Regions from separate parts of the Homo sapiens genome. Here region 2 is linked to region 1. The links are contacts of gene promoters, found by promoter capture Hi-C in human tissues and cell types (Jung and others, 2019). All regions are on one chromosome and are shown on one strand. Each heading gives the region's core, a stretch centred on a gene start or on the middle of the fragment in contact. The rest is flanking DNA. Distances are from core to core; before and after follow the strand shown.

The links. Contacts are between HindIII fragments. The study calls those that stand out against the background at their distance.
Region 2: a contact is called between a fragment that was not itself captured here and the fragment with the promoter of ARL8A in region 1, in 2 of the 25 tissues and cell types used here (dorsolateral prefrontal cortex and stomach).

The regions. Positions count from the first base shown.
Region 1 is chr1:202,143,458-202,145,996 of GRCh38, forward strand. It overlaps ARL8A (ARF like GTPase 8A), which reads right to left and starts at 1,280. Exons shown (of 7, transcript NM_138795.4): 1 at 993-1,280. The coding sequence starts at 1,115. RefSeq lists silencers at 221-270, 771-1,480. The HindIII fragment of the contact is 36,256 bases long and covers 1-2,539 here.
Region 2 is chr1:201,994,141-201,996,679 of GRCh38, forward strand. It overlaps RNPEP (arginyl aminopeptidase), which reads left to right. Exons shown (of 11, transcript NM_020216.4): 4 at 2,007-2,123. Among named protein-coding and RNA genes, the nearest start is that of MIR6740, 7.7 kb to the right of the region's middle. The HindIII fragment of the contact is 5,206 bases long and covers 1-2,539 here.

The DNA.
Region 1 (2,539 bases), core at 30-2,529:
TTGGGACTGGGGCCAGGTCCCTGGACAACCCCAGCCCCTGTCCCATGCTTCCTCGACCCACAAGCCCTGTCTAGCCTGGCTCTGACAGGCAGGCCGCAGCCATTACGGCAGCCTCAGCTCACACCCATGGAGCTCATCTTCCCCTTTTTTGAGAGAGATTTTAACTCCTTCCCCACCACTCCCCTGGCGCTGAAAGACTTACAATCACCCACTTCAGTGTTGACGACCCAAAGCCCTTAGAGCCACTCTCCCAAGGCCCCAGTGGGCCGTGCCCCTACACCTCATCCTCTCTTGTCGGGAGCACCTGCTCCTGCAAACTTCTGAGCCAGACGGAGTCTCCAAACTCCCGTTACCATGCGATCCTCCCTGGACCCCCGGCTAGACACTGCGGGTCGGGGAGAAGTTGGGGAGGAGTCTGGGCTTGAGCCAAGGGCCTCAGCTGACTCCTCTACCCCGGGGGATACCTCCCCTCCCCCTCAATAGGGCCGGGGCTTCCTCTTCCGGCAAGGAGGGGTTAAGCCCTCTGGGTGGGGCTGGGCTTGCCCAAACCCCCTCCTCAAGCCTCTCGGCCGCCCCGTCCCGTGACCCTCTACCCGCGGGACAGGAAGGCCCGTGCACTTTCGCCCCGTCATGCCCCCTTGCGCGGGGGCCAGAGGGGGCCCGTCTCAGCCGGCAGCGGGTCCCTCCTGCTTCGAGAGCCCCTCGGTGCCGCCTGCCCCGTGGCACCGGCCCTGTCTGTTCGTCCCCCTTCCCCTGCCCCCAGCCGTGCAGTACCGGCCCGGGTGAGAGAGCGGGTCGCGCGCCGCCCCGGTCCCCCACGGCACGGGCCGTACTAGGCCCCAAGCGCTCGGGGCCGGCTCCTCCCCCGCCCGGCGCCCGGCCGTGCCCGGCTATGCCAGGCGGCGACCCCGGCTCAGCAGGGCGCGGCGCGGGCGGGGACAGGCCCGACCCGCGGCCCGCGCCCGGGGACCCCGCGCCCGACGCCCTCGTACCGCGATCACGTTGACGAAGGTGGTCTTGCCCGAGTACTGAAGCCCGACCAGCGTGAGCTCCATCTCCTCCTTCCAGAATAGGGCCTTGAACCAGTCCAGCAGCTTGTTGAACAAAGCGATCATGGTCGCTGCCGCCGGCCCCGCCCGGTGCCAGGTCCCCGCCGCCCCTCGCTGCCCTCGCGCTGCGGCCCGGAGCGGCCCCTCCCCGGTACGGCCCGGGTCCCGCGGCTCGGTGCGGGCGGAGGCTCGAGCGCGGCTGCCGACGACTCGCTGCCCCGGAATCGGCTCGCCGATGGGTGTGGCTTCCGCGCCCTCCTCCTCCGCCGCCGCCGCCGCCCTCCCTCGCGGCCGGGCCGTGTCCTGCTCGCACCCGAGCGCGCGCTCCTCCCTCGCTGGAGCCGGGGGGCCAGGGGCCGCACCCGCAGGTGGGGTGAGCAGGGAATCCGCAGGTGGGGTGAGCAGGGAATCCGCAGGCTTCAGCGGCGGGGGTTGACCGGCAGCTGGCGTCGAGAGGCGCTTGGGAAATGGGGTCTAATTTATTTTAGACCCTGTCCCCGACTGCCGCGCCCTGACTGGCACCCCCTTTCTTAAAGGGTGGTGGGCTCGAGGTGGGTGAGGTTCCGGTTAAGCAGGAGCCTTTTCAGGTTGAAGGAGAGTGGGTCACCCACTTCCCAGGACACGGAGATGAGATCTCTACGACAGGGAGGCAGATGGAGGCTTTTTTGTCCCTGAACCCTTGCCTCTGAGCATTCCTGGGTACAGTCCCATCCTCTCAAAATGCACCCAGTGCAGAGGGACAACCGTATTCGGGTCTTTTAATACTCCATCTTGTTTTGTTCACCACAATTTACCCCGACCACTTGTTAGGAAGCCTCTGGCCCCAAGTGAAACGGACGCTTGAACTTGCTCCGGATTTTTACCAGCATCCCCAAGATACCCAAACAGATACAGTCCTGGCAGGGGGTTTTCAGTGAGGAACGTCTGTGACAAAGGAAAATGTTGCCCTGTTTTGGTGAAAAGCAGAGTATTCTTCAGGAGGAGAAGTGATAGTTCTCCTCTTGAAGTGGGTCTGGAGTGCCTGCAAAGATGCCTTACTCCTGCCCCTCTCCTTGCAAGACCCACCCATAGGACCTGCTCAGGCAGGCTGACAACCTCAGCTGGCAGTCCCGGGTAGGCTCAGGCTTCGGGCAGTCCCCAGCCTATGCTGGCTGCCCGTTGGGGTTTGGTTTTCAAATGTAGTCATATGTAGTCTATTGTTTTAGTCAAAAGTGGGTAAACTATCAATATCAACCATATCTGTCCAATCAACTGGAGTTAGATGACCCCAAATAGTCAAACAGTTACCAAAGTAGAAGAATCACAAGGTTTCGGCTAGCATAATATTGTTTTTTTTTTTTTTTTTGATGGGGTCTCACTGTGTGGCCCAGGCTGGAGTGCAGCGGTGGGATCTCGACTCACTGCAGCCTCCACCTCCTCGGGCTCAGGTGATTCTTCTACCTCAGCCTCCCGAGTAGCTGGGACTACAGGCATGCGCCACCATGCCAGCC
Region 2 (2,539 bases), core at 15-2,514, 150 kb before region 1:
ATCTCCTTCCCTGACTCCTCTGCCCAGCTCCTTGTGTGTCGATGTTGCCCAAGGCTCTGTCTTTGACCTGTTCTTTTCTTCTACATGCTTTCCTTGGAGAGCTCACCCATTCTTGTAGTTTAACATATTTTCTGTGTTCTGCAGCCAGGATGATATCTTAAAACTAAATCTGATAATGTCACTTGTTGGCTTAAAATGCTCCCATGGCTCTGAAGGTCCGGTTCTGTAACAGTGCACCTGAGGCTCTTCATGACCCGACCCTCTTGGGCATCTCATGTCCCACCTCCTGCCACTGCCTCCCTCATTGCAATCTGATCCTGTCCTCAAGTAATCCCAGACTCTCGGTGCTTCCTCACATGCATATGCAGTGTTCCATGGCTACGTCTTTGCTTTTGATATTTGGGAAGTACCTGATACTGGTTTCCCTGTATCTTTTCTTCCTGTTAGAATAGTTCCTATGCTTCAGCAAACGCAGAGGAAGTTTTCCCTCATCCGGGCCTGGACCCATCCCACTTTGCCATCAGTCTCTTTTTTTTTTTTTTTTGAAACAGAGTCTTACTCTGTCACCCAGGCTGGAGTGCGATGGTGCAATCTTGGCTCCCCGCAACCTCTGCCACCCAGGTTCAAGCGATTCTCCTGCCTCAGCCTCTCAGGTAGCTGGGATTACAGGCATACACTACCATGTCCTGCTAATTTTTTTTTTTTTTTTTTTTTTTTTTAGTAGAAACAGCCTTTCACCATGTTGGTCAGGCTGGTCTGGTACTCTTGACCTCAGGTGAACCACCCACTTCGGCCTACCGAAGTACTGGGATTACAGACATGAGCCACCAGGCCCAGCCAGTCTCATTCATATGTCTGTGTGGAAAAGCAGTTCTAAGCGCAGCCAGGGGCTCTTGGTCAAGCAGAGCCTTTGGCTGCAGGATCCCTGAGTCCATTGCATCTTTCCATTAGACTGGATCTTCTTGTTTTGTTTTTGTTTTTGTTTTTGTTTCCTCCAAGCCACCTTTGTTTCCCTATCTTTTTATTAAGAAAATTTCAAATATTTAGAAAATTGAAAGGATGATGCATTGAACACCTATAGAACCATCTACTTTGTCATATTAGTTTTATGAGTGGATTTGTTTTTATTTTTGCTAGACCATTTAAAAGCAAGTAAATCTGTGTGCCTCTCTGAAGAATAGAGGCATTCTCCCTTATAACCACAATCCCATTATTGTACCTAAGGCAGTTAACAAATTTCTATTAACATTAGTAGGTTTGGGTCGGACACAGTGGCTCATGCCTATAATCCCAGCACTTTGAGAGGCTGAGGCAGGTGAATCACTTGAGCCCAGGAGTTCAAGACCAGCCAGGGCAACATAGCGAAACCCTACCTCTACAAAAATAAAAAAATTAGCCAGGCATGATGATGTGCAACTGTAGTCCTAGCTACTGGGGTTGGGGAGCTGAGATGGAAGGATCACTTGAGCCCCAGGAGGTGGAGGTTGGATCACACCACTGTACTCTAGCCTGGGCAACAGAGCAAGAACCTGTCTTAAAAAAAAAATAAAAAAGGTTTGTCTCTTAAGGTTTTATTCAATTCCAGATTCTACTATTAGAACGCTTTCTTATCTCTCCTCTAAGTAGGGAGAAGAAAACTAACATTTACTGTATAAATGTTTGAAGGGCTTTTGTGTGTTGTCTTATTTAATCTTCACTCATTTTACAGATGAGGAAACTGAGGCTCACAGAGGTTAAATCACTTTTGCAAGATCGCATTCAGTAGTGAAGCCATAACTGCGTAGCACGGTTCCACCTCCATGAGGCTGTCTTGGGTTCTTGTTTCTCAGGTGTGGTGAGCGGTCTCTTGGATCTGTGTGGTGATCCGATCTTGCACTCCGTCACTGTGGCTGACTGCATTGTCACATTCACTTGGCGGAGGCCAATTTCCTACAGGTGCTTTCAGGATCAGGTCACTGCGATGGTCTCTAAACACCATTCTGCTTTCTCTGCTCTCTTGTCTTTAGGAGCCGGGTGTGGGCTGAGCCCTGCCTGATTGATGCTGCCAAGGAGGAGTACAACGGGGTGATAGAAGAATTTTTGGCAACAGGAGAGAAGCTTTTTGGACCTTATGTTTGGGGAAGGTGTGGTATCACATTGACTCTAGTGTCTCCTGTTAAACTGAGTCACTGGCTTCCATTCTTCCTCTTCGTGTGGCTTTTCCACCTCCTGCCTCCCAGAGCAAAGTTTCCCTGATCCCAGAAGTGAAGGAGAGGAGGAAGAGAGGAGGGTATGAGCCAGGCTTCTCACTGTTGCTGAGGAGAGGGCCTAGGAGATGAGGTTCTTTGTGTGTGTGTGTGTGTGTGTGTGTGTGTGTGTGTGTGTGTGTTTTGAGATGGAGTCTCGCTCTGTCACCCAGGCTGGAGGGCAGTGGCGTGATCTCAGCTCACTGCAACCTCCACCTCCCAGGTTCAAGCGATTCTCCTGCCTCAGCCTCCAGAGTAGCTGGGATTACAGACGCCCTCCACCACACTCAGCTAATTTTTGTATTTTTAGTAGA